Linked DNA regions of Homo sapiens: all the other regions are linked to region 1. The links are contacts of gene promoters, found by promoter capture Hi-C in blood cells and fetal thymus (Javierre and others, 2016). All regions are on one chromosome and are shown on one strand. The core of a region is centred on a gene start or on the middle of the fragment in contact, and the rest is flanking DNA. Distances in the headings are between cores, read along the strand shown. Region 1 holds the start of PURG (purine rich element binding protein G). Region 2 overlaps ELP3 (elongator acetyltransferase complex subunit 3). Region 3 has its middle 5.9 kb from the start of POFUT3. Region 4 has its middle 85 kb from the start of EXTL3-AS1. Region 5 overlaps EXTL3 (exostosin like glycosyltransferase 3). Region 6 overlaps INTS9 (integrator complex subunit 9).

The links. Contacts are between HindIII fragments. The CHiCAGO score rates a contact against its expected background, and 5 or more counts as called.
Region 2: a contact is called between a fragment that was not itself captured here and the fragment with the promoter of PURG in region 1, in 1 of 17 cell types (activated CD4 T cells). The highest score is 6.2, in activated CD4 T cells.
Region 3: a fragment that was not itself captured here is called in contact with the fragment with the promoter of PURG in region 1 in 5 of 17 cell types (naive CD8 T cells, total CD4 T cells, non-activated CD4 T cells and 2 more); the score reaches 9.5 in naive CD8 T cells.
Region 4: a contact is called between a fragment that was not itself captured here and the fragment with the promoter of PURG in region 1, in 1 of 17 cell types (activated CD4 T cells). The highest score is 5.8, in activated CD4 T cells.
Region 5: a fragment that was not itself captured here is called in contact with the fragment with the promoter of PURG in region 1 in 1 of 17 cell types (total CD8 T cells); the score reaches 5.0 in total CD8 T cells.
Region 6: a contact is called between a fragment that was not itself captured here and the fragment with the promoter of PURG in region 1, in 1 of 17 cell types (total CD4 T cells). The highest score is 5.3, in total CD4 T cells.

What each region holds. Positions count from the first base shown.
Region 1 is chr8:31,031,507-31,035,744 of GRCh38, forward strand. It overlaps PURG (purine rich element binding protein G), which reads right to left and starts at 1,850. Exons shown (of 2, transcript NM_001323311.2): 1 at 1,572-1,850; 2 at 1-1,282. The coding sequence starts at 1,276. The coding sequence ends at 233. WRN (WRN RecQ like helicase) reads left to right here and starts at 2,304. Exons shown (of 35, transcript NM_000553.6): 1 at 2,304-2,467. RefSeq lists silencers at 1,832-1,881, 2,042-2,301, 3,272-3,341 and enhancers at 2,057-2,578, 3,412-3,461. The HindIII fragment of the contact is 5,494 bases long and covers 359-4,238 here.
Region 2 is chr8:28,094,393-28,098,630 of GRCh38, forward strand. ELP3 (elongator acetyltransferase complex subunit 3) reads left to right here. Exons shown (of 15, transcript NM_018091.6): 2 at 2,827-2,926. Among named protein-coding and RNA genes, the nearest start is that of ELP3, 3.4 kb to the left of the region's middle. The HindIII fragment of the contact is 911 bases long and covers 2,040-2,950 here.
Region 3 is chr8:33,476,892-33,481,129 of GRCh38, forward strand. No RefSeq gene overlaps it. Among named protein-coding and RNA genes, the nearest start is that of POFUT3, 5.9 kb to the left of the region's middle. The HindIII fragment of the contact is 9,428 bases long and covers 1-4,238 here.
Region 4 is chr8:28,614,572-28,618,809 of GRCh38, forward strand. It overlaps a transcript of EXTL3 not described here. Among named protein-coding and RNA genes, the nearest start is that of EXTL3-AS1, 85 kb to the right of the region's middle. The HindIII fragment of the contact is 3,428 bases long and covers 50-3,477 here.
Region 5 is chr8:28,704,699-28,708,936 of GRCh38, forward strand. All of the region lies in intron 1 of EXTL3 (exostosin like glycosyltransferase 3), which reads left to right. Among named protein-coding and RNA genes, the nearest start is that of EXTL3, 5.3 kb to the left of the region's middle. The HindIII fragment of the contact is 760 bases long and covers 1,378-2,137 here.
Region 6 is chr8:28,884,699-28,888,936 of GRCh38, forward strand. All of the region lies in intron 1 of INTS9 (integrator complex subunit 9), which reads right to left. Among named protein-coding and RNA genes, the nearest start is that of INTS9, 3.2 kb to the right of the region's middle. The HindIII fragment of the contact is 4,325 bases long and covers 4-4,238 here.

The DNA of each region.
Region 1 (4,238 bases), core at 600-3,099:
CAGTTGAAGCAGCTAAACTATTTAGCTCTGGGAAGGTTGGAATTCCCGTAAGAATTATAGTGATCTATGTGTAACATAACATGAGAATCAGACTTCCTGAAGTATCAACTACTAGAGGTATTACTAATAACAACGGGCCAAAAAAGAGGAAAAACTTCTTCAAAGGATAATGGATCAGTACTTTTAGCCAATTTGTGATTTTAAATTTTGCCTGATGGAGTTCAATTTCACTCTAGTCGAGGCATTCTTGTTCTTCACCACTGGCCTTTCTGCCATCCATTCTCTTTTCTTTATGGCTGTTGCAAATTTTCCTCATCTCTTCTTCATACTTGATAAAATTCTCCCCAAACCTTGTCCAAGCTTTGAATGGAACAGTAATAGTATTACGGTAAGGTGGTCTCACCTCACTTACCTTCAGGAAAATTCCATATTTATTAGAGCCCACATCAAAGTAGAACCTTTTATTGTCCACTCTGAAAGAAGTCCCCTCTGGGAGTTCAAGCGGGTCATCGTCTCCACCTCTTCGTTCTTCTATGTCTCCTTCGCCATAGTCTTCAATCAGCTGAACCAAGGCATCACGAAACTCAATCATTCCTTGTGCTGGGAGGACAATAGTCTGTTCTTGGCCCAAACTGTGGCCAAAATAACCTATCATGCCAGTCCCCCGCATCATGGTTTGTCTAATCCGTAGGAAGCGACCCCGCTGATTTTCCTTTAGGTCTAGGTAATATTTCCTATTGTCCCTCTCGATATAGTCTGTTTTCAGGACACTGTGAGGATGCTCTTCGGACCCCACCGAGACTGGTGGGGAGGGTGCCGAGTGCTTCTGCCTCCTTCTGGAGCCTTGCTCTTTGCTGTGGCCATGCTCTTGCCGGTGGCCTTTCAGGCCCAGGTGGGCATAGTGCTCGATGAAGTCCCCTAGACAGTCCTTCAGCTCCGCTGCCACAGACAGGGAGAGGGTCAGTTTACTCTTTCTGATGTTGTCCTGCCGGCCTCTCCCTATCCAGACTTCGGCTATCTTTAGGAAGCGGCCCCGGGAGCTTTGCTTCACGTCTAGGTAAAACCTCTTTTTCTGGATGTCCACTCGTTTGGAGGCCAGCTCCTGGATTTCGGCTGCGCCCCCGGCCTGATTAGGGGTGGCTGAGGCCGCGTAGTGGGGGTAGTGGGAGTGCTGGGCCTGGGGATAGAGTCTACTCTTGCTTAGGCCAGAGCCCCCTACATTCTTGCCTCCGCGGCCGCGGCCGCCGCCGCCTCCCCTTCGCCTGGCTCTTTCCATCTTCAGCTGCAAGTAACAAACAGACACACGGGATGGGGTGGGGGAGGGGTGTTGAGAACAATCGCAGACGCCCCTCGGCCTGACCGCCCCGCCGCCGCCCGCGACCCCCACGCCGGGCCCGGCTCCCCCGGCGCCGCAGCGCGGGGCTCCAGCCACTGCCGGCCGGTTGGCGGCCGCCGCTCCGGCTCTGCCCGCGCTCCCCGCATCCCTCCGCCGCCCCCGGGGCCGCTCCCGCACGCCGCCGCCGCCCGTCCCGCGCTCCGCGGCCCCAGGTCTCCAGCCGGCGGGCACTCACATCATCTCTGCCATCACCGCCGCCGCCGATGCCCTTCACGACCACCGCCGCCGCCACCGCCAGCTCTCGGCCCCTCTGCTGCAGCCGCCGCAGCCGCCGCCCCCCGCCTCCTCCCCCGCCGCCGCCGCTCGCACTGCCCCCCGCCGGAGCAGCCGGGCAGGGGCATCGCCCGCGGCGCCCACCGCAGCCGCCCCTCCTGCGGCCGCTGCGGGGGCCGCCGCCTGACTTCGGACACCGGCCCCGCACCCGCCAGGAGGGGAGGGAAGGGGAGGCGGGGAGAGCGACGGCGGGGGGCGGGCGGTGGACCCCGCCTCCCCCGGCACAGCCTGCTGAGGGGAAGAGGGGGTCTCCGCTCTTCCTCAGTGCACTCTCTGACTGAAGCCCGGCGCGTGGGGTGCAGCGGGAGTGCGAGGGGACTGGACAGGTGGGAAGATGGGAATGAGGACCGGGCGGCGGGAATGTTCTCACTTCTCCGGATTCCACCGGGATGCAGGACTCTAGCTGCCCAGCCGCACCTGCGAAGAGACTACACTTCCCGAGGTGCTCAGCGGCAGCGAGGGCCTCCACGCATGCGCACCGCGGCGCGCTGGGCGGGGCTGGATGGGCTGTGGTGGGAGGGTTGCAGCGCCGCGAGAAAGGCGAGCCGGGCCGGGGGCGGGGAAAGGGGTGGGGCAGGAACGGGGGCGGGGACGGCGCTGGAGGGGCGGGTCGGGTAGGTCTCCCGGAGCTGATGTGTACTGTGTGCGCCGGGGAGGCGCCGGCTTGTACTCGGCAGCGCGGGAATAAAGTTTGCTGATTTGGTGTCTAGCCTGGATGCCTGGGTTGCAGGCCCTGCTTGTGGTGGCGCTCCACAGTCATCCGGCTGAAGAAGACCTGTTGGACTGGATCTTCTCGGGGTAAAGTGTCTTCCTATTCCCGTTTTCCCAGCTCCGTGCCCCGGGGTATCTATAGTGCTAGGCTTCTGAGACACGTGGAGGCGCTTAGGCCCGCGGAGCAGGCCCCTGGGCTGTGTTTGGGAGATTCTGGAAAAACAGACTTTCTCCCTTTTCCTTTCCCCTCTGGAGCAGCTGGGAAAGGCGTCTCTCGGAGCTTCCGCCATTCAGAAAGTGTTTCCCCGCCCCTGACGGCCCCAGCTTGATGTTTACCTTGCGCGCTTAGTTAGGATTGCTCTTTCTAGTACGGCCTTTATTATGGCAGAAATTGAGCCACTACAGGTCTGCACAGCAAAGTCGAGGGAAATAACCTGCTGTCTATGATTTAGCAAGTGATGATGGATATTTTTGAGTTCAAATCACTCAGTCTTTAATGGATTTTCTTTTCTTTTTTTCCTAGTTGAATCTCAGTTGTTCTCAGGCTAGGTTTGATATGAAAAATACTACTCCCTATTGAAGAGGGTAATATAATTCTTAGGATGCTAATACAGGAGTCTGTAAGTCGGAGTACTTCAGGCTTTTTATGGTTCGGTACATTTCTTTTTAGGGGTGGGATATTGGGATAAGTAGGACAGTTCAGATCTTGATGTCATTGAATAGTGGTGTCTACCTAAAAGGAAGAGGCTGGGGCACAAAATTATAATTTAAAGTGTTTACTTCAGCCAAAATGAGGACAGCTGCCCAGGACTCATTTCCCAGTTGCCTTGGGGAGTGCTCCTTCAGCCTTGGTTACAAGCAGGTTTTTAAAGGCGAAGGGGAAGAGTGGGCTGAGACAAAGTTGGTCAGGAATTGTTATTGGTTTACAGAGATACCATTGCTTAGTGATTGGCTGTACACTGTAACTCATAGGGTATGAGTTATCGTGTCCAGCATATGGCATTTTATGGCTTCTTGGTTCCAGTCTAGAGCCCATATAGCAGGTGGGCTTTAAGAGATAATTATCCAGCTCAGACCGGGAGTGAGACGGGACTGTTTTTTCATTCTAATGCCTCTCTGGGCCTGATAATTTAAAGGGGCTTGCATTCTTCAGCTAAAATTTTATTTTCTTTTATTTTTTTTCCCCCACAGTGGTCTCCCTTTATTAATCCAACAAATGTTTATTAAGGACTGCTCTAGGCACTAGAGATACCAACAATGAACAAAACAGACAAACATCTCTCTCCTTTTGGAGCTTACATTTTAGTGGAAAGAGACAGGCAAAAAGTAAAATTATAGGATGACAGAAGGTGAAAATAGAGATTAAAAAGGAAAGGGGGATGAAGAGTGTGTGTGTGTGTTGTGGGTGGGGGGCTGTAGGGAGCTGCAGTTTTACAATAAGTGGTCAGGGACGTCCTCGCTGAGAAGGGAATTTTTGAGTCCAGAGCTCAAGGAAGTGAGAGAACTTACCTTGACGTTCTCTGGAGGAGAAGAAAGTACAAAGGCCCTGGGGGAACCTGCCTCTTTATGTTCAGAGAGCAACTTAAGAGGCCTAGTGAGCTGGAGCAGAGCGGAGAGGAGGTCAGAGGTCAGGCCAGAAAGGGAAAGGGGCCAGAATGTGTAGGACTTTATGGGCTATATTGAAAATTGGGGCTTTCATTCTGAGGGAGATGGGAAGCTGTTGGAGAGTTGTTAGGGAAACGTGATCTGAATTATGTTTCTAAAAAATTGGAGTAAGATATCATAAAATTTGCCATCTTAGTCTTTTTTGTATCTGGCCAATTCCACTCAGAATTCTTTTTTAAACAGCTTTATTGAG
Region 2 (4,238 bases), core at 1,245-3,744, 2.9 Mb before region 1:
AATTTTACAGACAAGGAAATGGGCACTCAAAAGTTGTTGATCTTGGCCAGGCGCGGTGGCTCATGCCGGTAATCCCAGCACTTTGGGAGGCCAAGGCGGGTGGATCACTTGAGGTCAGGAATTGGAGACCAGCCTGACCAACGTGGTGAAACCCTGTCTCTACTAAAAACACAAAAATTAGCCGGGCGTGGTGGCAGGTGCCTGTAATCTAATCCCAGCTACTTGGGAGGCTGAGGCTGAGGCTGAGGCAGAGGCGGGAGAATCACTTGAACCTGGGAGGTGGAGGTTGCAGTGAGCCGAGATCGCACCACTGCACTCCAGCCTGGGTGACCGAGCAAGACTCTGTCTCAAAAAGAAAAAGAAAAAGAAAAAAAATTGTCGATCTTTTCCGTTACCACACAGCCAGTAGGCATTGGGACTGGATCCTGTCTTAGATTTTGTGGGTTTTTTAAAACAATGTTGCCTTTCAAGAGCCATTTGAGTAGTATCCATATTATATGTATTCTTTTTCACTTTCTGAATCATTCTTTGTACCGATAATATTCTTACCTTCCTTAAACGTTACTTTCAACTTTTTATTTCCAAAGTTGAGAATATGCAATTCTTCACTGTCTGTTGCATTCCATTTCAATGCCTTTGCCTAGTGGCCAGGGTCCCCTGTAATCTGTTCTTTATTACACCCTGTTAGAAAGCTGGATTTTAGTTAGGCTGTGCTGTTTCACACAAAGATAGGTAATTCCTATGCCTGACATTATTTCTTCTGGATTGCCTTCTGTTTTGCATGTCCAAATCTTGCCCTATCTTTAAAGATCCCTGTGCCATTTCCTTCATGAAGTCTTTTCCTACTCATTTACTCTTCCAGTTCTTGATACACTCAAGAGCTATACAAGTGGTTTCCAAATCTTATCTGTTCTTATCAGCCGATCCCCTTTTACCCTCCAAATAAATTCTTACACAGAACCTCAATATATAAACAGCTGAAAGCAGAGCTGCTGTGGTGGAAATAAAGAGACCTCCTCCTTTTTTTCCTCCATGCCTTATTTTCCTCTTCCCTTCTCCCTTCCTCTGCCATGACCACCACCAGTCCTACCTCTGTTGCATGGCCCCTGAGGCACCTTTGTAGAACTCTGGAAGTGCTGAGTTACATGGTTTGGAAAGCATTTAGCCTTTGAGTATAGATGGACTTTATTTCTCTCAAAAATTGTTGTGTATATGTTAGCCTTGCCTCATTAAATTAGATGCAGTGTGTTACAGTGAAAAAAGCATGGAAGTTGTGGTGAAAAGAGCTGGATTTGAGTCTTGGCTCTGCTGTTTACGATAGCTTGTTAACTTGCCTTAGCCTCATTTTTCACATCTATAAAATGGGATAACAGTACCTACCCTCCGTGTTACTGTAAGGGTTCAAATGAGATAAAGTAAATGTGTGGGCTCCATAATTGCCAGGGCCTTCCATCCACGCTTTCATTATGTTTTAGCTTTCTCTGCAGTGTGAGTCCTCAGCCCCCTGGGCCACGGACCAGTACCGGTTCATGGCCTGTTAGGAGCTGAGCCAGACAGAAGAAGGTGAGCAGCAGGCGAGCAAGTGAAGCTTCATCAGTATTTGCAGCCACTTCCCATCACTCATGTTACTGCCTAAGCTCTGCCTCCTGTCACATCAGCAGTGGCATTAGATTCTCAAAGGAGTCTGAACCCTGTTGTGAACCGTGCATGTGGTGGGTCTAGGTTGTGTGCTCCTTATGAGAATCTAATGCCTGATGATCTGTCACTGTCTCCCATCACCCCCAGATGGGAGTGTCTAGTTGCAGGAAAACAAGCTCAGGGTTCCCACTGATTCTATGGGAACAGAATTCGTTATGGTGAATTGTATAATTATTTCATTACATATAACAATGCAGTAATAAAAATAAAGTGCACAATAAATGTAATGCACTTGAATCATCCTAAAACCACCCTGCTCCCCTGGTCTGTGGAAAAATCATCTTCCATAAAACCAGTTCCTTTTATCAAAAAGGTTGGGAACCACTGCTCTACAGGTGAGAAGCTTGCTTGCTGACAGCTTCCAAGCTGATATCCCACAGCTTTTGTCCCTGGAAAAAGACTGGCATTTTTTACCTTGAAGAAAAGAGCTCAGATTGGCCTGGCTTAGAGATATGCCCATCCTTGAACCAATCCTTGAACTGTGCTTGAGTGGATGGCGTCATACAAGAACCTGTCAGCTTCTGCTGTTGCCTTTGGATGAGACCGAGAGCCCCAGTTGCCAGAAGTTCATGATGGTGGACAGACAATATTTTAGAAATGCATTAAGATTCTTAGGCAGATACCTGGGTTTGAGTTTCAACTTTACTCCTTGATAGCATCTTCATGTAACAGGCACATATTCTTGTTCTGTCTACCTCTGTTCTGAGAATTACCTGAATTCATGCATCTAAATGTTCTTTATGAACTCTAAAGTATTATGCACATATTAGTAATTACACCTCTGGAGATAAAGGGAAGAGAATTACTTTGGTCCTTTCCTGTGTGATTAAGTTCTTTCTCCTCACATTGTTTCTACTCCTGTATCCTTTCCTGTATTTATTTTTAATAATCTCATAGAGTATGTGCTTCTAAAGGGAGCTTTTCCCATATATATGTAAAGCCACGTTTGTTTTAAAGATACAAAAGATATGATCAAATTGTAAACAGTAGAGATTTAGCATCTTCTGAACTTGAGCTATTCATTTGGCATATTTGTATGGTTTCGGATGGAAAACTGCTACTAAATCAGATTTTAAAATCTTGATTGAATGATACGATTTTTGACATTGTTGAATATTAACTTTCCAGGAGATCTCAGCCCTGCTGAGCTGATGATGCTGACTATAGGAGATGTTATTAAACAACTGATTGAAGCCCACGAGCAGGGGAAAGACATCGATCTAAATAAGTAAGTGGATATAAAGAGAGAGCAAGCTTGTTCTTAGGTAGCAGATCTCTTTTATGAAATTATCTAGTACTACTTGTTTTCCAGCTCAAGTTTTATTTTAGTTGAGAATTTTAGCTTTCTGCCTTGCCTTGTCATTCATTTCTTTTTTTTTTTTTGCAAGTTCCGCCTCTGGGGTTAACGCCATTCTCCTGCCTCAGCCTCCTGAGTAGCTGGGACTACAGGCGCCCGCCACCACGCCTGGCTAATTTTTTGTATTTTTAGTAGAGACGGGGTTTCACCGTGTTAGCCAGGACGGTCTCGATCTCCTGACCTCGTGATCTGCCCACCTCGGCCTCCCAAAGTGCTGGGATTACAGGCGTGAGTCACCGCACCCGGCCGTCATTCATTTCTTGATGGCAAAATTGTCTCAGCTTAAGAATACTAATAGCTTCTAACATTTATTGGGCACTTACTGTATTCCAGACACTGTTGCTAATGCATTGTATGTATTAGCTCAGTTAATCCCCTCAAAATTCTGTGAGATAGGTACTGATACCAGCCACACTTGACAGGTGGGTAATCTGAGTCAGAGAGCAGTTAAATAATTTGTCCAGGGGTAAGTAACTAGTAATTGGCAGAGCTGGGATTTGGAATTAGGTCAGCCGTCTCCAGAGCCCATGTTCTTCTGTGCTGCATCGCTGCACATCCTACTTTCCTTCCCTACTGTCTCAGCTGAAGCAGCAGCTTTCTGTCAGGAAAACCCTCCCTTTGGGGCCCCTGATCTAATCCAACCCTCCCCTGCTGTAGAACCTCTTTGACACATTCATCCACTTCCTCTCCATAATCATTTTCAGCTTGGACTTTCCTACAGTCTCAAATAAGAGTTGTCTTTCATCTCTGCATCTATTTTTTTTTTCAAACTATAATATATATTCACTCTATGTAGATCTTCCCTAATGAAAGGGTTCTCTCCCCAACCCCAGGTCGTCTAATCATCACATACAGGAATGACCTTTTCTTAGACTCTCTTCTCTGATACTTGAGATGCTGCAATATTTTACCCCTTCCTTGAATCCTCATGCTTAGTAAATATTTGCTACAGGAATAAGTAAATATCCTCTTTTGACTATAAAGTTATTGTATTTTACTGATTTTTCTACCGTGTCTTTAGAAGTTTTTCTTTCTTTTTTTGTTGGTTATACCCCTGATTATACAAATCTTTAATTTCTAGTGAACATTTCTACATCTTATATATATTTGTTGTTCTCTTTAATTTAGCACATCTAAAGCTAAAGCTGCCATCGTCCTTAAAACTCGCCCCTCCTCAGATGTC
Region 3 (4,238 bases), core at 477-2,976, 2.4 Mb after region 1:
GTTTAGGGACCAAGTCCTGGACAACACTGAAAAAGCAAGAAGCATGCTTGTGTTTGACAGACCTGATGCACTTACTGTCTGCTGCCAAGGTTTCCACTACAGATGCAAAAAGAAAAAAAGCAGTGCCATGCTCTCTGTTGGATTGTGGCAGCCAAGATTGAGTGGGGGAAATACAGGAGAAAAAACATGGTAATAAAGGGAAAAACATGGACAGAGAATTTTTGCAACTCAGAAATAATCTTGTAAATAGTAAAGAGCCTGTTTTACTCCAAAACGAATTTAAAATTTGAGGGTTTTCTTAAGGTGCTAAGAAAACTGCTATAGCAAACTGGAAGAATGATGACATGTTAGATAGCAGTAAAATACTTGGTAAAACTATTACCTGTAACAACTCACAAGATATAAAACATACTTAATTTGTATGCCTTGATAAAATGATTTCCAGGCAGAATGCTAAATGTGTTAGTTGGTGTCTTTTAGCTGCATATTGTAAGGACTGCCAGAAAGAAATAAGAGAAATAAGGAGAAAGGGGTGCTGTACAGAATTTAGAGGAACTATCAAGAGATTAAAATTGAGCAGATTGGAAAATAAATCCTGTTCTTATCTCCAGCCTCCCCAGCCAGTAAAAGATCCTCAAGATGAGGCTGGAAGATCTTTTGTTAAGACATCTAAAAGAGTTAAGTTGGTACTAATGGATCTTTTCAGTTAAACGAAAGAGCCAGTAAGAATCATAAAAATGTCTTCTCTTAGCTGCCGGTTACAGTCAAAGTAAGCTCAATTAAGTCTGGAAAGAAGTTTGTCTGAAAAAAAAAAATGATGTATACAGCTTTTGACCAGCGGAGTAGACTGAAATCAGACTCAACATAGAAAGTTCACAAAGTTTCAAAAGTTTTACATAGCGAACATGTTTTGACCAGGCACAGTGGCTCACGCCTGTAATCCCAGCACTTTAGGAGGCCGAAATGGGCGGGTTGCTTGAGGTCAGGAGTTCAAGACCAGCCTGGCCAATATGGTGAAACCCTGTCTCTACCAAAAATACAAAAATTAGCCGGGTGTGGTGGCACGCTAATTAGCTGGGTGGGGTGGGCCAAGTAGTAATCCCAGCTATTTGGGAGGCTGAGGCATGAGGATTGCTTGAACCCGGGAGGCGGAGGTTGCAGTGAGCCAAGATTGCACCACTGCAGTCCAGCCTGGGTGACAGAGTGAGACCCTGTCTCAAAAAAAAAAGTTTCTGAGGCCCCAAGTTTCTGTGGGCAAGATACAGACTTAGAAGGGCACTCAGCTGCCAACAGGAGTCATTTCTTCCTAAGAATCCACAAAGCCTAATGGAAAAGAAAGGTGCTTCAGAGAATCAATCCAAGAGCTTTGGTGAACCAGGTGTCAGGGAGCCATTCCTAGAAAGCAAAACTGGGCCCTAATAACAGAATGTTCCCTGCCCCTGGAGAAGAGGGACCTGACAACATTTGCTGGGTGGAATTTCAGTATTGCATGGAGCAGTGACTGCTGTGTGCTTACCGCCGGGTACTAACAACTCTAATTGAATATCTAGTGGGCAAATGAAAATCAACACGTTCAGGCTGGGCATGGTGGCTCACATCTATAATCCTGGCACTTTCAGAGGTTAAGGCCAGAGGACTGTTTGAGCCCAGGAGTTTGAGACCAGCGTGGGCCATGAAGCAAGACCCTGTATCTACAGAAAATTTTAAAAATTAACTGGGCCTGGTGCTACCCACCTGTAGTCCCAGCTACTCAGAAGGCTGAGGCAGGAGGATCCCTTGAGCCCAGGAGTTTGAGGTTGCAGTGAGCTATGACTGTATCCTCCAGCCTGGGAAACAGAACAAGATCCTGTCTTTAAAAAAATAAAGCGGCCAGGCGCGGTGGCTCATGCCTATAATCCCAGCACTCTGGGAGGCCGAAGTGGGCGGATCACGAGGTCAGGAGATCGAGACCATCCTGGCTAACACAGTAAAATCCCGTCTCTACTAAAAATACAAAAAAAATTAGCCGGGCGTGGTGGCGGGCACCTGTAGTCCCAGCTACTTGGGAGGCTGAGGCAGGAGAATGGCGTGAACCCGGGAGGCGGAGCTTGCAGTGAGCAGAGATCGCGCCACGGCACTCCAGCCTGGGCAACAAAGCGAGACTCCCTCTCAAGAAAAAAATAAAAAATAAAAAATAAAATAAAGTAACATGTCCAAAATTCAATTCTCACCACCTGTAAAATCTGCTCCTCCAGTTGGGCACGGTGGCTTACGCCTGGGTGGCTCACCCAGCACTCTGGGAGACCAAGGCGGGAGGATCACTTGAGGTCTGGAGTTCGAGACCAGCCTGGCCATCATGGCAAAAACCCATCTCTACTAAAAAATTTAAAAATTAGCCAGGCGTAGTGGTGCATGTCTGTAGTCCCAGCTACTCGGAAGGCTGAGGCAGGAGAATCACTTGAACCAGGAGGGAGGTGGAGGTTGCAGTGAGCTGAGATAGCGCCACCGCACTCCACCCTGGGTGACAGAGTAAGACTCTGTCTCAAAAAAAAAAAAAAAAAAAAAGAAAAAGAAAAGAAAAGAAAAGAAACAAGTAAAGAGGGAGCCTGGTGACCTTCTATAGGCAGCTTCAGTTCTTGCATTCCCCTGTTTCTAAGAGGGTACAAACTGTTTCAGAGCATTGCTTCTCAAATACAAGTTCTTGCACTGCTAATGTGTCTGGCACTATCTAATATGTGAATCATCTGGGAGCTCTACTCCTTGAGTTTCTGACACAGCAGTTCTGATGTTATCAATGAAATCTGTATTATTAATCAGTTAACAATTTGCTTCTGATGTTTGAACATAACCAAGTTTGAAAGTCATTCCTCTAGATTGTTTCCTCATCACCTCTTTCCTATTTCCCTTTTTTTTTAGATGGGAGTCTTGCTCTGTCACCCAGGCTGGAGTGCAGTGGCACAATCTCAGCTCACAGCAACCTCCACCTCCCGGGTTCAAGCAATTCTCCTGTCTCAGCCTCCCAAGTAGCTGAAATTACGGGTGCCCATCACCACGCCCGACCAATTTTTTATTTTTAGTAGACACGGGGTTTCACCATATTGGCCAGGCTGGCCTCAAACTCCTGACCTCAAGTGATCTGCCCGCCTTGGCCTCCCAAAGTGCTGGGATTACAGGCATGAGCCACCGTGCCCAGCCAAATATTTCCCTTCTAACATGGAATAAAAAGATAGATGAAGTAGATAAAGGAGGGAAGATGTGGTATGTAAAATGCTAGTTTTTTTCCACATCCTGGTCTATGTTCTGTGATAAACATACAGTCATCTAATGAACAAAGAATCACAAATATGTTCTACCCCAGGATCTGAGAGTTCTCAACTTCCATCCCCTTCCATCTCAGTATTTCTTCGTCTGTGAACAAGATATGAAGCAAATGTAAAACAAATAGAAGCAGATATTCCCCACTGCACCTTTTTTATGAGCAAAAGCAAATATTGAATCATTTAAGGAATATTCATGGAGAGGCAGTTAAAACACACTTCATCCACCGGTGCAAAACTCTGAATGATCGAGCTCATTGGCAAGACAGGAGGCTGCAGAAATGACCCTCCCCATAGGACTTCTAAAAAAAAAGTATTGTTTACATTTTATTTATTTGTGTTTTTAAATTGATATATCATAGTTACATATATTTTGGGGGTATGTGTGATACATGTATACAATGTGTAATGATGAAATTAGGGTGATAGAGGTATCCATCACTTCAAACATTTTTCTTTGTGTTGAAAACATTCTAATTCTTCTCTTCTAGCTATTTTGAAATATGCAATAAATTATTGTTAACTATAATTTCCCTACTGTGTTATCAAATACCAGACTTTATCCTTCTATCTAAGTGTTTTTTTTGTACTCATTAACCAACTTCTCTTCCTCCCCCTCCTCTCCATAGGACTTACAATCATTGTGTTGAACTCAAGATCATCCAGCTCCAACAATTTTCTTTCCTTTCCTCCTTTGCAGTTCTAGCTGCTCAATTATTATTTTGGCAACCTAAAAATCACATTAATAAAGAGATGCTAGACCAAAAGAACCCTGAAAGTTAATAAAGAAAAAAAAAGAAAGAAAAAACAAAATAAAGTGATGCTAGACCTCTGATAATGACTCCCATTTCTTCCAGCTAGTCATTACATTTACAGAGAGAGGTTCTTTTTTTTTTTTTTTTTTTTTTTTTTTTTTTTTTTTTTTTTTAATGAGATGGAGTC
Region 4 (4,238 bases), core at 514-3,013, 2.4 Mb before region 1:
CTGTTTACTTTGTATTTATTTTGCTGTTTTTAAATTTTCCTGAGGTGGAAGCTTAGGTTGCTGGTTTTGGATATTTCTTCTCTTCTCATATCTCCATTCAATGCTATAAATTTTTCTCTCTGCATTGCTTTCACTGCACCTACAAATTTTGATAAATGATATTTTCATTTTCATTTAGTTCAAAATGTTTAACAATTTTTCTTGAGACTTCTTCCATGTATTATTTAGAATTATGTTTTTCATTTCCAACTTTTAAGTGTGGGGTACATGTGCAGGATATGCATGTTTGTTACATAGGTAAATGTGTGCCATGGTGGTTTGCTGCAAAGATAATCCCAGCATCCATTAGCTGTTCTTCCTGATCCTCTCCCTCCTCCCACCAGGTATAAAGCCCAGCATCCATTAGCTGTTCTTCCTGATCCTCTCCCTCCTCCCACCCCCGCCCTCCAAATTATGTTGTTTAATCTCCAAATATTTGAGAATTTTCCAGCTATTTTTCTGCTATTGATTTCTAGTTAAATTCCATTGTGGTCTGAGAGCATATTTTGAATGAGTTCCTTTCTTTTACGTTTCTTAAGATGTATTTTATTCAGAATGTGGTCTACCTTTGTCAGTGCTCCATGTGTGCTTGAGAAGAATTTGTAATTTGCTGTTGCTGGATAAAGTATTCTGTAGATGTCAATTATATTCAGCTGATTGATGGTGCTGTTGAATTCAGCTGTATCTTTACTGATTTTCTGCCTGCTGAATCTGTCTACTTCTGACAGAGGAGTGTTGAAGTCTCCAATAATAATAGTGAATTCATCTATTTCTTCTCTGCAGGTCTATCAGTTTTTGCCTCATCTATTTTGATGCTGTTGTTAGGCACATACATATTGAGTATTTTGATGTCTTCCTGGAGAATTGACCCGTTTGTCGTTATGTAATGTTCTGCTGTATCTCTGATAATTTTCCTTTCTCAAAAGTCTACTTTGAAATTAATATAGCTACTCCAGTTTTCTTTTTTCTTTTTTTGAGATGGAGCCTTGCTCTGTCACCCAGGCTGGAGTGCAGTGGCTTGATCTCAGCTCCCTGCAACCTCCACCTCCTGGGTTCAAGAAATTCTTCTGCCTCAGCCTCCCAAGTAGTTGGGATTACAGGCATGCACCACCATGCCAAGCTAACTTTTGTATTTTTTTTTTTAATAGAGACGAGGTTTTACCATGTTGGCCAGGCTGGTCTCAAACTCCTAACCTCAAGTGATCTGCTTGCCTGGGCCTCCCAAAGTGCTGGGATTACAGGCTTTAGCCACCATGTCCGGCCTGCAGCTTTCTTTTGATTGGTGTTAGCATAGTATGTCTTTCTCCAGCTCTTGGATTTTATTACATTAAATCTATCAGTAGGCCAGGCACAGTGGCTCACACCTGTAATCTCGGCAGTTTGGGAGGCTGTGGCAGGCGGGTCACTTGAGGCCAGGAGTTTGAGACCAACTTGGGCAATATAGGGAGATGCTGACTATCTTTTAAAAAAAGAAAAAAGATATCACTGGTGAAATTATTATTGTGAAAAATGTAATGAAGTATTCTTGCAAAGGGCAGTACAGTAAGCTACTTTCAGTCATTTATACTTTAGTTTGAATTAGTATATAAGAGACTTTCAATAAACAGGTAAAGAATACTTTTCGGTGGAGGGAAATGGGGGAGGGGGTGAGGAATTAAGAGTCAGTAACTGAAGGAGGGAGATGGAAGCCCCACAAACAAAAAGAGAGGCAGTCAGACATAAAAGCCAAAACGTTCCAGGCACAGTGGCTCACGCCTGTAATCCCAGCACTTTGGGAGGCTGAGGCGGGTGGATCATGAGGTCAGGAGATCGAGACCATCCTGGCTAACAGGGTGAAACCCCGCCTCTACTAAAAAAGTATAAAAAATTAGCAGGGCGTGGTGGCGGGCGCCTGCAGTCCCAGCTACTTGGGAGGCTGAGGCAGGAGAATGGCGTGAACCTGGGAGGTGGAGCTTGCAGTGAGCCGAGATCATGCCACTGCACTCCAGCCTGGGCGACAGAGCGAGACTCCGTCTCAAAAAAAAAAAAAAGCCAAAATGTGTGCTCTTCAAGATTCTTGCCCAGGGCTGATACCGCCTGAATGCTTAAGAGTTTTCCTCTCTAAGTGAATTCAGTTAACAGGTGTGCGCTGAGTATAGATTTGGGTGTGGAGAGTGAACCAGGAGTGCATCAGGGTTCCCAGGAAACAGCTGGTGACACAGCACCTGGAGACTCCTCTTCATCTGCCTTGGAACGCATTGCCTCGGAACCAGCTGTGGACACTGAAGGGAAGACAAAACGGACTTCCAGGCTTATTCTCAATGTTCCTCTTTGCTTCCTTCTTACGGTCACGTCTTTTGCAATCTCAAACCCTTTTCACAAAGGCTGCATCAAGGAAACACAGTATGCCTACTAATACCCAACTCCAGGAATCCCACTTCCTGTTAAGAGTGTCTTAGTCTTGAGAGGATTTGTCCTGGCAGGACTTGCTTTTTAGCCAAGCCAAGTATGTGGTGTGTCTGTGGGATGATTTGAGGAGTGTCTGCAAGATTGCCCTGTCCTACTCATGCCAAAAATTTCACCATGAATGAGTCATACCTGTTGCTACCAACACCCCGTTCCGAGAAGGCAAGGACACAGAAAGAAGATGGGGCAGCTTCCTTCCTCATTTTTCATGGGGATGGCCCGTGACTAGGGTCTACAGTGGAAATAAGATCTTATGTGGAGGAGAAAACATATGTGAAGTGTAAGCTAATGTTCATAGCAACATTATTCACGATAGCCAAAATGTGGGAACAATCCAAGTGTTCATCAAATGAATAAACAAAAAGGAATGTATATGTACAATATACACTGTACAATAGTACCATATATATGTACTATTCAGCCATAAAAAGAAATGAAGATCAGGCCAGGCATGGTGGCTCACACCTGTAATCCCAGTACTTTGAGAGGCCAAGGTGGGTGGATTGCTGGTGGAGCCCAGGGCTTCAACACCAGCCTGGGCAACATGGCAAAACCCTGTCTCTACAAAAAACACAAAAATCAGCCAGGTGTGATGGCACATGCCTGTAGTCCCAGCTACTTGGGAGGCTCAGGTGGGAGAATCACTTAAGCCCAGGAAAATGGAGACTGCAGTGAGATAGTGCCACTGCGCTCCAGACTGGGTGACAGAGCAAGACACTGTCCTCAAAACCAAAACCAAAATCAACAACAATAAAAAAAACAAGAAATGAAATTCTGATACATGCTACAACACGGATGAACTTTGAAAATACTATACTGAAAGAAGCCAGACACAAATGGGCAAATATTGCACGATTCCATTTATATGAAATATCTAGAACATGGAAATTCATAGAGACAGAAAGCAGATTTGAGCTCACTGGGGTCTAAGGGGAGAGGGGAGTGGAAATTATTGCTTTAATAGATACGGAGTTTATCTTATGGGTGATGACAAGCTTTGGAAATAGTGTTGATGGTTGCCTAACATTATGAATATAGTTAATGCTATTGAGCTCTATACTTAAAAATGATTAAAATGACAAACTTTATCTTATCTTAAATATTTTACCATAATAAAAAAGACAGTGAAGCCGGGCATGGTGGCTCACACCTGTAATCCCAGGTACTTTGGGAGGCAGAGGCGGGTGGGTCCTCTGAAGTCAGGAGTTCAAGACCAGCCTGACCAATATGGTGAAACCCCATCTCTACTTAAAAAAAAGGTATATAATAATAATAATAGTAAAACAATAGATGTGACTCAAGATTCCTGGCATGGGAATAGACTGAGGGAACTATGGAAAAGAGACAAAATTCAGAGGGGGAAAATGCAAAGGCCTAGAATTAGAAGCAAACTAAGCTCGTTGGGAAATGGGAACCTGGGTTCAATGAAGTCACCCAGGGCTGGCAGTGAATGAAGCTGGGGAGCTGAGTGGAGGTCAGATCAGGAGAAGCCTCACGTCCGGCACGAAAGAGGTTGAACCTGGCGCAGCAAGGTTTCTAAGCAGGAAGGAGCATATGGCTGATCAGGTTTGACTGTGGGCAAAATCACTCCAAAAAGTGTGGGGGATTTATGGCCTGAGAACAGTGGTGAAAGCAGTGAGAGAACCCCGCAGGGTCAGGCCAGGCACGAGAAAATAGGCTCTAGCCCAGCTCCCACTCCCCAGCGGCCCCTAGTGCCCCTAAAAGCCAGTGTAAGAAACAGGAGACAAGCCAGG
Region 5 (4,238 bases), core at 508-3,007, 2.3 Mb before region 1:
CGCTCTTTTCGCCCAGGCTAGAGTGCAATGGCATGATCTCAGGTGACTGCAAACTTCCGCCTCCCAGGTTCAAGTAATTCTCCTGCCTCAACCTCCCAAGTAGCTGGCATTACAGGTGTGTGCCACCACACCCGGCTAATTTTGTATTTTCAGTAGAGACTGGGTTTCACCAAGTTGGCCAGGCTGGTCTTGAACTTCCACCCACCTCAGCCTCCCAAAGTGCTGGGATATAGGCTTGAGCCGCCGCATCCGGCTTCCTTTGTTTCTGAAGTAGAGCTGTAAAATATAAAAGCACAGTGGCTTCGAATGGAGAAAATAGTTGATGGGATCCCAAATTATTAATGGAGTCTGTGGAAAATTAAGGGGGGCCTTAAAGCCTTATGCCTGAAATCTTGGAGGTGAAACGAGAAGGAGGTCTTGGGAATGGCCTTGCTGCCTTGAGTAGGTAGGGTGGTGAAATTTTCCCCACAGCAAAACATGTTTTTGTGCTTCCTGGGAGCAAGGCAATTGTCAGTGAGGGCCTAGAGTCTAAAAGGATCTTTGAGGTCATCCGGTCTAACCCCTTAATTTACGAGTTAACAAAGGACAAGGAGCTTATGAGTCAAGAACGAGGAATTGGGAAGTTAGGGGACCTGATGAATCAGAAATATGGTAATGATGATGGGATGGTAAAGCGTCTCAAGCTGAATTCACCCACAAAGGGTGAAGGAGAATGCCCGAGTCATAAGCTGATTTAAGGCTGGGCACGGTGGCTCACACCTGTAATCCCAGCACTTTGGGAGGCGGAGGTGAGAGGATCACCTTGAGTCCAGGAGTTCAAGACCAGCTTGAGCAACATTATAGTAAGACCCTGTCTCTTAAAAAAAAAAAAAAAGGAAAAACCTGATTTATGTATGGCTTAGCAAACTTGCTTCACTTTCTCTATCTCATTCAGGGAGGCCCAGGGCACTAACGATATCAATTGTATGCCTCCACAGCATAAAATAAAAATCATGTATGTTTGAGAAGCGAAAACCGTTAGATTAGTTTATATTCTAGGCACTTGCATACTAAGTTGACTGTTCTGAGAATAAGTTAGCAAAATCCATCTGAAGACCTTATTTGAAAACCTTGTTTCTACATCGCTACCCAGCCCTTATGAAAATGACGCATCTCATTTTAGGAGGGAGAGTGAGAAAGATAGGAAGAATGCAGAAATCACCTATAATTTCACAATCTAGAAGTGCCTCTGTTGGTGTTTTTGCTTCTGTTTGTTTTTCTATTCAGAAATATATACATATGCATTTTAAACATGTTATACTGCATATATGGCTTTGAATCTGTATTTTTCCAGCTAACATTGTGAACATGTTTTCATTTTATTTAAAACCATTGAAAAGCTTCCTAATGGTATCATAGTCATATCAGTGACAGTCACACTTTGTTTAACCTTGCTCCTAGTCTTGGACATTTAATTTATATATTTTATACAGATGATAAAGAATAATGAGGTGATTGCATCTTTACATACAAATCTTGCTCACCTAAAATATATTCCTAGAAAGTGAAATTGCTGAATCAGAGATAAGAAAATTTTGAAGGTTTTTTTCTTACAAATGGCAAATTACTTTTCAGTTTACCTTTCTACTAACACAAGAGTACCTGCCACATTGTAGCAGCCAGCATAGTTCAGAGTTGTACTGTACTTTAATCACTATTTTAATGTTTTAGTATGAGCATTTTGGAAGTTAAATCTTTTTTCTCACTCATGATTCTTTAAGAATAATTTCTCGGATAGAATTACAGGGAAAGAGGATAGACACAGTTTCAGTGTTTTTATTACTGCCAAATTGTGCTCCAGAAAGGTGTGCCAATTTGCAATCCCAGCAGCCAAGTGTGGGAATGTTTACCCTGGATCCTGCTTAGCACCAGATATTATAATTTTACAATACTTTGATGATTTATTAGTGGAAAATATCACAGTATCTTGTTTGAAATGTGTATTTCTTTGATCGCTAGGAAGGTTAAACATATAAACATGTTTATCACTTGAACCCTTTTTTTGTGTAACTTCTTATTTATGTCCGTTGACCACTGTTGATTGCTTTCTTTTAATTCTGTCATATTGAGCAGGCTTCCCCATTTTTAATCAAATTTAAGCTTTTTTTTTTTCCTTCTGAATACATAGAATCATTTGATTCTTATATAGTCAAACCTGTTGAACATTTCTGGATTTTACTTTTGCTTGGATTCCTGGAAAAGTGGCTGTACTTGAGATGAGATTACATGTATATTTTCCTTTTCTTGTTACGGTTCATTTATTATAATTAACTCTTGAATCCACCTGGAACTTATTTTTGGATTTGGTTTGTCATGCAGTAATCTGACTTTATTTTTTTTCCCAAATAGATGTGTCACATTATTTATTGAAAAATGTAATGAGGTGTTCTTTAAAAAGATTGCAACAAGGTAATATTTTTAATTACAAAAGTAATACATAATGATTGTAAAATGAATTAAGACAAAATGAATCCTCTAAGTAAACAAATGGTAGATAAGCAAGAAGCAGTATACAGGGCTGTAGGTCATACGGACCTGGATTTGTAACTTGGTTGCTGTATTGCCTTGAACAAGTTTCCTATCCTTGGTGATACACCACTGCTTCATCGGTGAAGTGGAAATGACAGTACTCCCATGTGGCTGATGAAATGTATGTGTGAAGTGTGTTATCTAGAGTACTGTGCCTAGCACACTGTAAATATAAATCAGTAGCAATTATGAAAAAGCCCTCTCCTCCCCATCTTCCAAGGGTATGTGGTGCATTGAAGTGCGGACTTTCTGCGTTAGCTAAGGGATAGTGCTGTTTGTCTTCCTTAGCTGTCTATGTTGATTGAGCTGCCATCAATCTGAATCTCCATTACTATCAATTCTTCATTAGACCAATAGTTTTGGAGTTAGGGTTGTGTGCTCTGCATTAAAATCACCTGGGAACTTTGTCAAACTGCAGGAGTTTTCCCCCACACCTAGGAATTCTGATTTAGTTAATGTAGCACGGTCCCGGTTTGTTATTTGAAAAAATTCTTAAGTGGTGAATCTGATTTTTACACATAATTAAACTGACTGGTAAAACAATACGATTTGGATTTGTGGGACATTAGCGAACTGGTGGGAAGGGAAGCAGATAAGGCAATGGCATAATTTTCAAATTGAGGACTTATCCTGGGAGTTGAGACTTCTGGGCCCAGGTTTGTTGCCAAGTAAACAGATAACTTGGAGTAATCAATAGCCTCATTTTCCTTGTTAATATCTATATATTCAGCAGCGGAAGGAATGCTCACCACTTATTGATGAGTTCCTTTTGTATTTTGTGATTTGTCTGCTAGTGGCATTTGTGGAACACCTTGGGATTTAGAAACCTACTCTTAAGCCCAAAGAATAAATTGTTTTCCCTTTCAAACAGCCCTGTAATAAGGGCGGCTCAAACTCTGGTTCTCTGGTTGCATCATAATCTTCACTCTTCAGTCAGTAGGTCAAGGCACAACCAGTTTTTCACACTTCGTTTTGCTTTTTAATTGCTGAGGATGTTCTGTTTCCCTTTTTTCATCCAGGCTAGGTTACACAGTAAGAAACCACTGTGGTCGTTGGATTGTGAAAAACATAGGGCCTTGGTCTCCTGTAACTTGGGAAGTGTCTACATGTAGTTCTTAGAGCTTACTCTTTATCTACAATTAGTTTCCCTGGGAAGTGCCTTTTTTTTTTTTTTTTTTTTAAACAGAAGACAAATCAGTGATAGTGTTGGGAAATGTGTTTTAGTGCTTATTAACATACTTCCTGACTTCACGAACTAGGTACTGTCTTGCCTTGACAGGCTGTTTGTCATGCCTGTAGTTAGGAAATCAGGAAATGATGTTTTTTTGGGTTGTTAGTACTTAAAAACAAAACAATCCTCTGAAATACTGCTTTCAGTGACCTCACTGAAATGGTTTCCTGTGGAGAACTCTCTTTACCTAATTGGAAGGGCTCCTGGTGATGGCAGCAATGACAGCAGCATGCAGACAGCTCTGTAGAACCCGCACCTGGGTTGTCATGGAGTTCTGCCACTTGATGGGCCTATTTTGACCTAAATGAAAAAGAGAAAATAGTACTACAAGCACAGATATACAGGTGGGCCATAGGCACAGTGGCAAACATCTTTTGTTCTGAGTCTGCTATTCTCTTTAGCAGGTAAATACTTTGAATATAGTGTTGGTTTTGGGTTT
Region 6 (4,238 bases), core at 916-3,415, 2.1 Mb before region 1:
AAAAGCTTGAAATGACATTACATCCTAAAGACACAGGAGGGCACTCTTATTAACCAGCAAAGAAAAACAGAAAAGACAGTGAAGTCAAGCTGACATTTTAACAATTTGTACTGCAATAGTTGAATCAAGCACCGATAAAATGTTGAGGGCTTGTAATTTATAGCCCGAGATTTCCTGTTTTCATGTACAACCTAGGAAGCCAACAGGATTCTACAACCATGTAAACTGGAGGAAGAATCCAACACTCTCAGATCCAAGGTGAGGATTAACCACGCCCCTTTCTAATGATTTCTTAAACTGACCTTGGGGCAGGATTTGCCCCTTTCAAGCAATCTTCTACATAATCTACAATTGCACTCGGTGTTTTACTTGTCTTCCACTGGGAGCAGTCCATGAATTCATTTCTTTGCTCCATCTGTTTTCCCAGGAGAAATGGCAAGTTAAAAGTTTGAGCCAGTAGAAATGAAACAGCATTTTGAACAAAGGAGCAAAGACCACTGAAGAATGTATTTCGTGGCCTTCTCAAGTTTTAAAATTTGTAAACACAACTACAGCATGTAATTTTCTCCTTCAAATTTAATAAGTATAGTATAACAAGCATTTAAATGACCTTCCTTTAAGACTTTTAACAAGCCGGCCTCTGCAGAGCGCCATGGATTCTGAGGCACTCAGGCCCCTCCCAAAGGATTAACATTAATCTTAAAGTCACATTCAAATTTGTGTCTCAGCAAAATTATAAATAATTCCATGTCACAGGGGTCAAATGTAATGGTTAAAATGGAAAGCGTTAAAATTGTGAATGCCAAGGGTATACTGTGGTTGCATAAAAAATCTTTGTTGACTGAATAAGCCAGAAGATTCTCTCCATCTCAGGTACTATCTGTAGGAAGTACAACACACAGGCTGCATTCTTGAACTGCTTTGGATTATTTTATTCGCTTGACTCTTCATCTATTTAAATGACTGGGTTCCTGGCCATGATGTTTCAAACTTAATTTCTGTCAACGTGCTCAGAATTTTTTGTTCCATGTTCTTTCGGTAAGGACCTTTGTGAATTCCAGTTTCTATCCTTAGCTGAACTGGCCATCAGCGTACTCAGTTAGGCTCAATCTATACAAATAACAGAACATGCTCTAAAATGTGCTAATTTAAAAGATATATTTCTAATTTTCCTCTGCTTTCTAAAATGATTCTGGTTAACTGAAAATGCCAATGAGTTTTCTTCAGTTAAATAAAGCTGCCTGAATATTGCATATTATAAATACGGAAAGCCACTGAAATCCTCTGAGTTGGTATCTAAGAAGGAGATACCCAAGTATTACGTTATAATGGCATCCATTGTTTTCATGTGGGTGTGTGAAAAGCCACCAAGAGGGTGATGTGCAAAGTTAGAGAATTATAAATGGTATCACAGGAGCTAAATTTGGAAGATAAAAAATACTAACTTCAGCACCAAATTAGTATGCTCTGATATGGGGGCCTTTAGCTCATCAAGAAAGTCCTCAAACTTAAAAAAAATTTTTTTTTAACCAATAACCTTAAAAACTTTTTTTTGTTTTTTGTTTTTGAGATAGGGTCTCATTTTGTCACCCAGGTTGTAATGCAGTGGTGCCATCACAGCTCACTCCAGCCTCAACCTTCTAGGCGCAAGTGATCCTCCTGCCTCAGCCCCTCAAGTAGCTGGGACTACAGGCACATGCCACGACGCTCAGCTAGTTTTTGTATCTTTTGTAAAGACAGGTTTTGCCATGTTGCTCAGGCTGGTCTAGAACTCCTGATCTCAAGCCATCTGCCTGCCTCCGCCTCCCAAAGTGCTGGGATTACAGTCATGAACCACTGCACCTGGCCTGAAGATCTTAATTGAACCACACTTGCATTTAAAGCTAATTTTTAAAAATAGCCTTGAATATATTTTCTGTATGCACTCTACCTTCTTTTTTTTTAAGAGATAACCTAGGCATGGTGCAGGGTGCTAGAGTTCCTACCCTCACTAAATAACAGGGAAACCTGGGTTTCGATCTTGGCTCTATCATTTTTAATCCATGCTAACTTTAAGCCACTTACTTCACCTCCCTGAAGCTCACATTTTTTGTCTGTAAAATGGGAATACTGTCACCTGGATCAAAGGATTAAATGGGAAACTACATAGCAAATACTTAGCACATTGCCTGGCACACAATAATTGCTTTATAAAAGGTAGCTATCATTCCTTTTTTACTTCAATGGTTACTGCTTATTGTAATCTCTTTAATTTCACTCTTTAATCTTTTCTCAAGGGTATCCATAGACCTTGATAAACCTTCAGAAATTATTTACCAATTATTTACACAGAATCTACATGGGGGAGGACAGACACACGCCAATAATTACAAGTGCTACAAATAGGAAGTATGCCATCAAATATATAACAGGGGTACTTAATTCAACGAGGCCCTGAAGAAGTGTTATTTAGACAGAGATCTGAAATATATGAAGAAATTAGCCAGGCAAAAAAGAGTGAGGCAGGCAATGGAACATATTCAACCAAGTTAAGTGTAGGAGGTTATCCTAAGGGCAAAGGAAGATACTGAGAGGGTTTCATGGAACTCTGCAATTAAAACAACTTCCGGATGCAGAGGAAAGAATGAATTTGAGAGGGTTAAGACTGAATGCAGAGAGACCAGATAAGGGGTCTTGTTGAATTCCGATTACAAAGACAGTATTCTAGTTGGACTGGAGAGAAATAGAACCTATTTAAGAAAGCTGCATTTAGGAAGCAGAATCAATAAGAGGTGGTCATAGATTGTGTGTGGGAAGGGTACTCTGGAAAGTGAATCTCAAAAATGAGAAAATGCTAAACAAAATGTGTTTTTGTTTCATAATTATAAATTTAAAACACAGCCTATTACATATTTCTGAAGCAGTACACAAAATTAAAACTTTTAGGCCATGGGAGGACTTATTCCAACCATTTGGGAGGCATGACACACCCATCTAACTTACTGAGCAACAATGCTTTTGGTATGTTGATGGGAATTCTCAATTACATTTATCTATCAACTACCAAATAAATTTTAGTATGTAATACATAGTTGCAAAGTAAAGAGGGAGTATGAGTATCAATAGAATACTTCCTTTTCCTCTGAGACATCTTTGGTTCTTAATGGAAAAAATAATTTTCCACTTTTTTACAATCCCCGGTTTCATATTTCTAAATAAATTAAGCAGGAGGATTTTATGAGCAAACTAAAATATATGTAAAGTAAACCCTGGCTTTTTGATACCCTCACTAATGAGTTGTTATGGGAAAAACTATTTCACACTTCCCTGCCTTCTTAAACTGAACACATTAAATATAATTTGCTCTTTATTGAGAACACAGGGTCCATGCTTTAGCCAATAAGGTACCAAGCTCTTATGCTCCTATAAGCTGACCTCTTTCATGGAAGGCCCTGGCTTACTTATCCTTATCAGTTCAAGAGTCACGTTTCCAGGAAGCTGTCCCCTGACCTCCCCAATCCTCTGTTCTCTGAATTCCCAAAACCCTGAACACGCCTCTATTTCACCATGAACACAGTGAATTATAATTTCGGACCAGGCATGGTGGCTCATGCCTGTAATTCCAGCACTTTGGAAGGTTGAGGTGGGCAGATACCTTGAACCCAGGAGTTTGAGACCAGCCTGGGCAACATGGTTAAACCCCATTTCTACAAAAAAAATAAGCAGGGTGCAGTGGTGCGCGCCTGTATTCCCAGCTATATGGGGAGACTGACGCGGCGAGAGGATCGCTTGAGTCCGAAAGGTGGAGGTAGCAGCGAGCTGAGAACGCGCCACTGCACTTCAGTCTGGGCCCCACAAAGCCAGACCCTGTCTCTAAATAAATAAATAATAACTTTGGTTTACTTTTCTATCTTCTTCTTAGGTTGCATGCTTCTGTAGGGCAACGGCTATGACTTTTAATTCTGCATTATTAAATGTGTAACACACTGACCCAGGGGTAAGTTGCTATTCTCAAGGTTTAGTGACCCGCATCCTTCCCCTTATATAAACAGATTTATACGGGGACAATTTCGGAATTGAATCCACTTTTAATACTTTCTCTGACTTCGCAGAAAACAGCTGGCTTTGCAGAATATATGCCTGTAGCACAATGATTATCAAGATGAGGGTAGGTGTGTTGTGTGGTTTGGCAAAGCATGTTCAGATAATTATATAAATGGTAAAAAATAAACTTTTTTTTTTTTTGAGACAGAGTCTCG